2 separate regions of the Homo sapiens genome follow, and region 2 is linked to region 1. The links are contacts of gene promoters, found by promoter capture Hi-C in human tissues and cell types (Jung and others, 2019). All regions are on one chromosome and are shown on one strand. Each heading gives the region's core, a stretch centred on a gene start or on the middle of the fragment in contact. The rest is flanking DNA. Distances are from core to core; before and after follow the strand shown.

Region 1 (5,055 bases), core at 962-3,461:
TAAAGTAAGAATCATTCCTAAAAAGGATGCATAAAATCAGATCTCTCATCAATTTGACCTGTCGTCACTAACAGGAGGAGCACCCCGTACTAATCCAACTATTTATCTACATCTCCACCTTCCAGCTTTGGAAGTACAACCAGGGAAGATGTACAGAGCAGAAGTGATGCCAGCTAGAGGTGTAACAGACACCAAATATTCTTTAAATGCCTCTAGAATGGGCTGAGCTGTCACTAGGGTGAAGCAGCAAGGCACCCAGTGTGCAAAATGTAAGGAATCATGCAAGTGAAGGGCTGGCACCCTAAGTGCCTCACCCTAGTCTCAGCCCTGAGAAGGGAGACTGGTCTAACACTTCACTCCTTCCGGTCCATGCCACCAAGCCCACACAATTTGGCTGCAACACAATCCTGACCTTCCGGTTGATAGACATAAATGACAGGGTAATCTGGACAGTGGGTATGTGTGTGGCTGCCAATGTGCCAATGGCGTCTGCGGTAAACATATTAACTGTAATCACCACTGCTAGACTCTCCAGTTTACTGCCACAAATCTCTGTCCCCGCAACGCAAGAAACTAAGTGGATGGTAACACTTAAGAGGTGGTATCCATATTAAAATCTGTTCTCCTGAGTCACAGCTTTTAATGCTCTGTGCTGCTGCTGACTGGGCTGGTATAAAAAGAATTCCAGGCCAGGTGCGGTGGCTCATGCCTGTAATCCCAGCACTCTGGGAGGCCGAGACAGGAGGATCGCAGAAGTTTGAGACCAGCCTGGGCAACATAGCAAAACCCCGTCGCTACAAAACATACAAAAAAAATTAGCCAGGTGTGATGGGGCACACGTGTGGTCCCAGCTATTTGGGAGGCTGAGGTGAGGGGATCACCTGAGCCCAGAAGGCAAAGGTTGCAGTGAGCCAAGATCACGCCACTGACAAAAAAAAAAAAAAAAAAAAAAGTAGCTGCCCACCCCAGACTTGGAAAAATGGTAAAGCCGGTTAAAATCCCAGAGACTTCCCACCAGCCTCTGACACTGCAAAGAATATACTCACCACTTAAGCCCCCAACATTAGACCAGTGCATTCGTGTCAGGAATATGTTGTCCAGGCGAGCAACCTTTAACCTAAGAATGAAAAAACATTTAAACAGGATAACATGAACAGAACAAGGACCACTTTTGCTATAAAAAACAACTGGCCTCTCATTTCGGCTTTCAAGCCCCGTAATCAACTCCCCCTCCGAAAGCAAGAGACTGACTCACTTGTGCTCCTGCATGAGTCTCTGAACGCCTTCTCCACAGTTGAAGAGATACCTACAAGACAAACATTACACAAGACATTCAGAAGGTTTTATTCTGTAAACTCTCTGACACCAATTAGATGTTTTATTGTAGACTCTGGAAAAAAAAAAAAGAAAAAAAAATTAAAAGTCCACGTTGGACTACCGAGCCACATTTATGCTGGTGGGTTTTGAGCCCTCCTTAGCAGAGGTGGAGAGGAGTGGGGGCCTGTGTGTGTGGGTGCTAGGACAAAATGAGTCCTTTCTCCACCACCGGCTACACACCAGATCTGTCCACCCCACACGCTAACAACGACACACTGGCCTTGGGGTGCACGGAAGAGGGTGGAGCTCCGAAAGTGCTGACAGCCAGGCCGGGGCCCAAGGGTTGGGAAAAGGACGCTCAGACCCAGGCCTGAAGTTCTTCACAGATCCGCAGAAATCACATGGATGCAAAGAATCTCGGATTTCCCACCCACCATAACTCCACGAACCCCCGCAACAGTGAACCACATGTGTGAAGCAGGGAAGCCGAAGCCCTGGGAGGTGCCCCGATGCTCAGAGGCTGCGCCGCACTGAGGGCCCAGCGGGACGGGGCGTGGCTCGTTGACTGACCGGTTGAACTCGGAGAAGACGTAGAGCGCGGCGCCCGAGTCCCGGCTACCCGCTGCCACCACCTGCAGGTACACGGTGTTTGGGCCGCCGGAGCACCCCGACGGTCCGCGCTTCTCTCGCGTGCGCAGGTGCCGCAGCGGGTCCTTGCGCGGCCGCTCGCGGCGGGCGGGTGCCTGCGATATGGTGCGTCCCTGCGACATGGTGCGTCCGGCCGCGGACCGCAGCAGCGAGCAAAGCGCCCACATGCGCCCGTCTCCACCAAAACTGAGAAAGCCGCCGGTCACCTACGCCCGCGTTTCCCGTGCACCACCTAGCCGCTCCGCATGGCGGATCCAGCCAATCAGCGCGCCGTGCACCGAGCTTCCCGCCTACGCGAGGCTGCTCATCCAATAGAAAGGAGCTTTACCGCTCGGGACTTGTCAATTGACAGTGGCCATAGAGTAGAGGAATACTAGAGCGTCTCAAGCGGCCCCGCCCCTAGTTCTGTTCCGGTTTGCCGGCCGCAATTTTTTCCGGAAGCTGTTTTTCTCCTGGGGCGGGACTTCCGGAAGCACAGTGCCAGGAAAAGCCTTCCTGGGGAAGGCGGGACCTAGGAGTTTGGAGTTTCGCTAAAACGCTCCTGTTCTCACCAGATAAGAGCTGTGTCCTCCGGGCACGTCAGTCCCTCAGAGCTTGAGTTAGAGGTGGTTGTAGTGGTTGTGAGGATTAAATGTGAGGAAATCAATTGTATTGAGCATTAGCATAAGCGCTTTGCTAATTTTATTTCCATTGTAATTCGTATGCATACATGTTAGAACTTGATCATTTTTACGTGGTGTCCCGAGCTTGTAGTCCCAGCTACTTGGGAGGCTGAGGCAGGAGAATCGCTTAAGCGCGGAGGCGGAGGTTGCGGTGAGTCGAAATCGCGCCACTGCACTCCAGCCTGGGTGACACCTCGAGACCCTGTCTCAAAACAAAACAAAACAAAACAAAAATTGTAGTGTTTTTTGGAAAGAAAAGCAAGAATAGAGGACAAGCTCTAAAGCAAGAGTCTTGGCTCATTTGTTAGCTGCGTGATCTTGACCTCTCAGAGCCTCAGCTTTCTTATGTGTAAAATGTAATAACAGCAATAACAGTATCTCCTACTTCAGAATATAGAATTCAGTCACCTGATAATATATCAATAGACCTTTGAGTGGCACTGTCACAGAAGAGGCACCCAGTAAATGATAGAAAATTAATACAAAATGTTTCAACTCCTAGACAATATAGCTGACCAGGGACATCACAGAGGTAGATGTCCCAATACCAGCTTTTTGAAAAAAACACCCAGTCCCCTCTTATGTAGCTAATGAGGATTTCTCACTGAAAGGGATATCAGTTAAAGCCGCTAGAAATACAGGGAGCTCCCTTAAAAGAGGAAGATAATTTACCTGGAAGCTCCACTCAAATATGATTTTTTAAAGATAATTTACCTGGAAGCTCCACTGACATATGATTTTTTTAAATAAATACTGAAAGATGTCACTTTTATTCAGGAAGTAAGGGAGATTCAAGTCATGTAGATTCCTACTCGAAAATCTTGACACCTGACTTTCCAGGATCACATTTTCATATGGAGACCAGTTTCCTCTTGGTTTCTTCAGTTAAGTCAAAACTACACGTTCCTCTTTCCCCATATATTTTTGCTCATTAGTGTATTTCTTGAGCTGTTTTCATTCAAATATGAAATTTTTTATGGAAGATTATCACCCACGGTGTGAAAACGTTTTGTACTTGAAATAACCATCCCAGTGAGGGTCAGGAAAACACTTCAGATCTACTTTACACAGTTAGAGGGCGTTACAAACTGAAAAGATTATCATACCACCATCTCCATAAGTATTTGAAATAAAAATGATAGTTTTTAAAAGTTGCTTAAAGCCTGGGCACCGTGGCACATATCTGTAATCCCAGCACTTTGGGAGGCCAAGGCGGGAGAATAGCTTCAGGCTAGTAGTTCAAAACCTGCTCTGTGGCCAGGCATGGTGGCTTATGCCTGTAATCCCAGCACTTTGGGAGGCCGAGGCAGGTGGATCACCTGAGGTCAGGAGTTCGAGACCAGCCTGGCCAACATGATGAAACCCCGTCTCTACTAAAAACACAAAAATTAGCCGGGAGTGGTTGCATGGGCCTGTAATCCCAGCTACTGGGGAGGTTGAGGCAGGAGAATCACTTGAACCCCAGAGACAGAGGTTGCAGTGAGCCAAGATCACACCATTGCACTCCAGCCTGGGTGACAGAGGGAGATTCCATCTCAAAAACAAACAAACAAACCAGCTCTGGCAACAAAGCGAGACCTCATCTCTACCAAAAAATACTAAAAAATTTAAAAATAAGTAAAAATTAGCTGGACATGGTGGCACACACCTGTTGTCCCAGCTACTCTGAAGGCTGAGACAGGAGGATCACATGAACCCAGGGGTTTGAGGCTGCAGTGAGCTATGATCATACCACTTTACTCCAGCCTGGCTGACAGAGTGAGACACTCTCTACAAAAAAAAAAAAAAAAAAAAAAGAAAAAGAAAATTAATTCATTAAAACTACTTTTAAAAAGTGTAGTGCAATAAATAAAATACTGATTTTTTTCCTGTGATGACTGCTTTGATCCTTTTAAAAAATATATCAAATTTCACAAACAAAAATACATTGGTTCCTCTATTTTATTGGTGCCCTATGTGCATATCTATCTGTTGGGTAATCTCAAACTACTTATCTCAAAATTATAGGAGGAATCACTTTTGGTCATCGACTTATATAAAATTCTGAGGGCTGGATGCTATTTAGGTTGTTTCTAGGGCCCAGTGTACTTTCTGCACTTATGCTTTGGGTCATATTTTTATTCCTGGTATATGAAGACAATAGCTAGTACTTCTTCAATCTGAGGTTATACTGGAATGTAAATTTCATGAGCCTGGGATTTGTCTATCTGGTCCTCTGCTGTATCATTAGCTCCTAGGACAGAGTCTGGCTTGTGGCAGACAATAAATACTAGGAAATTAGAAGCAAGCCAGTAGCTTAAATGAGGTTTTCAGTTTACAACTAAGCAGGGCCTAAAATTGAATCAAGACAACAATGTATGTGTTTTCTGAAGGGGATTGGTGTGACTGGTACCTCCAAAAGGATAGTTCAGAGAGTCTGAAACAGAAA
Region 2 (5,055 bases), core at 1,618-4,117, 1.0 Mb before region 1:
AAGCACAGTTTTAAAAATTTACTTGAACTGGAATGCCTTTTAGTGGTGCATGCAATTTGCAGTGAGTCATAAGTCTGACCATCCCATTATTACTACTATTATTATTATTATTCAGAGATGGGGGTCTAGCTACGTTGCCCAGGCTAGGCTTGAATTCTTGGGCTCAAGGGATCCTCACGCCTCAGCCTGTCAAGTAGCTAGGACTACAGGCTCAAGCCACCATGCCCAGCTTTGACCATCCCTTTAGATCATGTTCCTTTAACATACTTACAGTACCATCTGGACCCTGAAGGTATTTGAGCAAGTTTGCGCTCAAATATTCTCCAGAAGGCAGAGGAGTCAAGGTTAATGATGCTCCCCTCAGAGTCTGAGCTGTAGAGCCTGCTGGGGATGTCTGAAGACTTTGCTGGTCAGAGGGCCTAGAAGCTGACTACTGAAGATTGGGCAGGGCACTGCCCTTGCCAAATCCCTTATCCCACAGTTCACTTGATACTTACTTAATCAGTCTGTGGCCTCCACCAGATGGTAGGCCACTAGGAACTGTTGTTCCCCACAAGATCCTTATTATTCAGGGAACTCCCAAAAGAGAAATAGGAAGGAATTTGGTCAAGGTCAACAGATAAGAATTTAGTCTAGGTCTACTGTAACTATATCCCAAAAACCAAAATTTAGATACCATGGTCCAAAATTCGGAGCATAGCATTTACAATTGTGACACCCTGGCAAATTCCTGACTTACGGGCACAGGCTATACAGATATCAGCCAGTGTTCACTGGAGGAAATGAAGGGAAGAAAGGAACTCAAATCTCAAGCCCTGTCTAGGAGAAGGAGGCAAGTCTTCAGGGTTATACTCACTTATAAACTGGAATCTGGCCTTTTTCCCAGTGAAGAATCCACTGAATTATCTTAGCTTTCCTTCACATACCTGAAAACAGATATATTCGAGGAGACATGGGTTGGTGTAGACAATTTTTTTTTTTTGCCATCCTTTTATCCCTACATGGCTGCTTCTAGAACTGCCTGCTCCACTCAGGGTTCCAGGAGGACAGCCTTGGGTTCAAGGCAGAGACGTTCTTTTATTCCAAATTGTATCATTTGGACCTCTAGAAAACAGGGTCCTATGGTCCTCCATGATCAATTTCCACCCATCTCTGTGCCATACATTCCCGAGCTTTTTTTTTTTTTTTCTTTTTCTTTTTTCGAGACAGAGTCTTGCTCTGTCACCCAGGCTGGAGCGCAGTGGCATGATCTTGGCTCATTGCAACCTCCGCCTCCCAGATTCAAGCAATTCTCCTGCCTCAGCCTCTCAAGTAGCTGGGATTACAGGCGCCCGTCACCATGCTCGGCTAATTTTTGTATTCTTGGTAGAGACAAGGTTTCACCACGTTGGCCAGGCTGGTGTCGAACCCCTGACCTTAAGTGATCCACCCGCCTCAGCCTCCCAAAGTGCTGGAATTACAGGCGTGAGCCACCGCGCCTGGCCATTCCTGAGCTTTTAAATCATCCCTCCTTGCTCCTGCCTGCGTGAGACGTAAAAGAAACAACAAATACCCTAACTTTGCTTCTTGAAAAACCACTTAAAATACACCAAATGATCTATTAACATATATTCCTAGAATTCCAACATACAGATTTGTGAGATGGTAGAAAAAAGTGCCTAAAATATGGCTTATCTATGTAATATTAGCAGATGGTAGTTTAGAAAAGACTACAGGAACATCACCTTTTCCTTGACTGCACATGTGGCTTGGATATAACAGACCAAAACAGGGGTGAAAGCTTTATTGTGGTGCCTGTCGAGAATAGATTAGAATAGACAGTAATGGAGAGGACAGTTTCACAAGACTTTATTCTCAGGCTTAATTAGAACCAATAAAAACTTATAAGTAAAAAAAAAAAGTACTATCAATGAATTTCACTGTATAAATATAGTATGAAATGTTTACTAAATGAACAGGATTTTTCATTTATATATCTTGTAATTCTTCGCTATTCTAGTTGAATCTGAGCCAAGAATAGAAACTCAGTACATTTATTTTCTGGTGACTTAAAGAGAAAAAAGGAAAAGTTTTGTGTAAGTAAAATAGAATGTATTTACAAGAACAGACTGCTTTTCTTTAAAACTGCTTCCAAAACATTTGTTTCTGAACTTTTTTTTTTTTTTCCAGATGGAGTCTTGCTCTCTCGCCAGTCTGGAGTGCAGTGGCGCAATCTTGGCTCACTGCAACCTCTGTCTCCCGGGTTCAAGAGATTCTCCTGCCTCAGCCTCCCAAGTAGCTGGGACTACAGGCGCCCGTCACCACGCCCAGCTAATTTTTTTGTATTTTTAGTAGAAACGGGGTTTCAGCATGTTGGCCAGGATGGTCTCGATCTCTTGACCTCGTGATCCACCCACCTCACCCTCCCAAAGTGCTGGGATTACAGGCGTGAGCCACTGCGCCCCGCCGGTCTTTTATTTTTTAAACACTTACTATGCCATGAATTCATAGGGAATATGTTCCAGCACCTCAGGCTTCTTCCTACTGGTTCTCACGAAGTGTGCTTTTCTGGGCAGTGCAGGCTGGCACTTCAGTTGAACCCCAGGTACTTTTCTCTTTGTCTTCTTTAGTTTTCTGATAATTTTCCTTCACTTGTTTCAGGAAGCTATCTTGGCTCTTCACGTGCTTAACATGCCCAATACACACATTAATTCTCTTGGCAAGAATCTTGCCCTTAACTTGTTTGTTTACAACAAATGCCAACAGCATGCTGGGGAACATTGTAGACTCTTCCAGTTTAGCCATGGTGACACCTGTGGGGCATTCCTTTTTGAACAGTACTCATTCCCTTGATGTCTATAATATCACCTTTCTTCTAGATTCGCCTGTGCACGGCCAAAGGAACAACTCCATGTTTTCTAAAACTCCTGGAGAACATATATCGGGTGCCTCTCCTCTTTCACTTTGTGTTCATCATTTTGGTGAATTACTGGAAGATGGCGGTTCCCCTGAATCATATTTTGAATGAAACTTTAAAAGAATATAAATGTATGGTAATAAATATTTGCTGTTTCATAAGAATGTTTATTTAACAACAAAAGAAAGGACATCCATCATCCTGATTTAGTTCCATCATTTTTATTATTATTTTTTTTTGAGACAGAATCTCATTCTGTCGCCTAGGCTGGAGTGCAGTGGTGCGATCTCAGCTCACTGCAACCTCTGACTTCCGGGTTCAAGCGATTCTCTTGCCTCAGCCTCCCAAGTAGTTGGGGCTACAGGCACCCGCCACCACACCCAGGTAATTTTTGTGTTTTTAGTAGAGATGGGGTTTCACCATGTTGACCAAGATGGTCTCGATCTCCTGACCTCATGATCTGCCCACCTCAGCCTCCCAACATGCTAGGATTACAGGTGTGAGCCACCATGCCCAGCCAAATGTTCTTAATTTTTTTTTTTTTTTTTTTTTTTGAGACGGAGTCTAGTTCTGTCGCCCAGGCTGGAGTGCAGTGGCACGATCTTGGCTCACTTCCACCTCTGCCTCCCAAGTTCAAGTGATTCTCCTGCCTCAGCCTCCTGAGTAGCTGGGATTACAGGCATGCACCACCACATCCAGCTAATTTTTGTATTTTTAGTAGAGATGGGATTTCACCACATTGGCCAGGGTGGTCTTGAACTCCTGACCTCGTGATCTGCCCACCTCAGCCTCCCAAAGTGCTGGGATTACAAGTGTGAGCCACTGCGCCCAGCAGTTACATCTTAATTCATTAATTTTCATTAGCTATTATGTTCATGACATTTACAGTCCATAAGCTACCAAAGAATATATAATGTAAAGTGTCCCTCTCAATCCTGTCCACCAATCACCCAGTTTCTCTCTTGAGACACCAAAATTTTCATTATTTTCAGTATCTTTCCAAATAAATTTAAAACAAGTAACTAAATATTACATATACATTTCTCCTTCTTTAAAACAAATAGTAGCAAACCATGGTGTTCTTCATCTGGCTTTTTAAAAGATAACAATATATATTGATAGTCATCCCATATCACTACACAAAGAGCTTCCTCTTCTTACAGCTGGGTAGTATTCGCTCCATGTTTATTCAGTTGCCTGTTAAAGGACATTTAAGTTGATTCTAATATTTTGCTACAAAAATACTATATTCAGTAACCTTGGACATATATCATTTTGCAAACGTGAGAATATCTGTAAGAATACACGTCTAGAGGTATAATTTCTGGGTTAAAGGGTATATACATTTTTAATTTTGATAGCCATTATTAACTTGTCCCCCATTGAGCTGTGCCAATGTACATTCCCACCAGCTATGTAGAAGAATGCCAGTTGCCCACACTTTCATCAATATATTGTGTTATTAAACTTCATCTGCTAGATAACTGAGAAATTATATCTCAATGTGGTTTTAATTTACATCTTTTTTTTTAGACAAATCTTCCTCTGTGGCCCAGACTGGAGTGCAATGGCATGATCACAGCTCACTGCAGCTTTGACGTCCTGGGCTCAAGTGATCCTCCTGCCTTGGTCTCCCAAAGTGTTGGGATTATAGGTGTGAGTCAATGTGCCTGTCCGCATCTTCGCATTTTTAAAGAGACATTTATATTCCTTTTCTGTGATCCACTTGTTAATTTTCTTGGCCTAATTTTCTATTAGGTTGTTGTTCTTTTTCATGTTGATTTGTAGGAATTTTTTTTTTTTTTTGAGACAGAGTCTTGATCTGTCACCAGGCTGGAGTGCAGTGGCGCGATCTCGGCTCACTGCAACCTCCGCCTCCTGGATTCAAGTGATTCTCCTGCCTCAGCCTCCCAAGTAGCTGGGACTACAGGCATGTGCCACCATGCCCGGCTAATTTTTGTGTTTTTAGTAGAAATGGGGTTTCACCGTGTTAGCTGGGAGGGTCTCCATCTCTTGACATCGTGATCCACCCACCTGCGCCTCCCAAAGTGCTGGGATTACAGGCGTGAGCCACTGTGCCTGGCCAATTTATAGGAAATTTTTATTAGTGAAATTAATCCTTTATCCATGTTATAAATTGAAACATTTTCCCAGTTAGC

The links. The method cuts DNA at HindIII sites, captures the fragments that hold promoters and counts their contacts. A contact is called where the count stands out against the background at its distance.
Region 2: a fragment that was not itself captured here is called in contact with the fragment with the promoter of ELAC2 in region 1 in 1 of the 25 tissues and cell types used here (lymphoblastoid cells).

Annotation. Positions count from the first base shown.
Region 1 is chr17:13,015,816-13,020,870 of GRCh38, forward strand. ELAC2 (elaC ribonuclease Z 2) reads right to left here and starts at 2,212. Exons shown (of 24, transcript NM_018127.7): 1 at 1,888-2,212; 2 at 1,256-1,306; 3 at 1,047-1,117; 4 at 1-17. The coding sequence starts at 2,132. RefSeq lists enhancers at 1,528-2,028, 1,540-1,649, 1,670-1,729 and a silencer at 2,250-2,329. The HindIII fragment of the contact is 16,662 bases long and covers 1-5,055 here.
Region 2 is chr17:12,008,269-12,013,323 of GRCh38, forward strand. It overlaps a transcript of ZNF18 not described here and the pseudogene RPL21P122. Among named protein-coding and RNA genes, the nearest start is that of MAP2K4, 10 kb to the right of the region's middle. The HindIII fragment of the contact is 4,053 bases long and covers 842-4,894 here.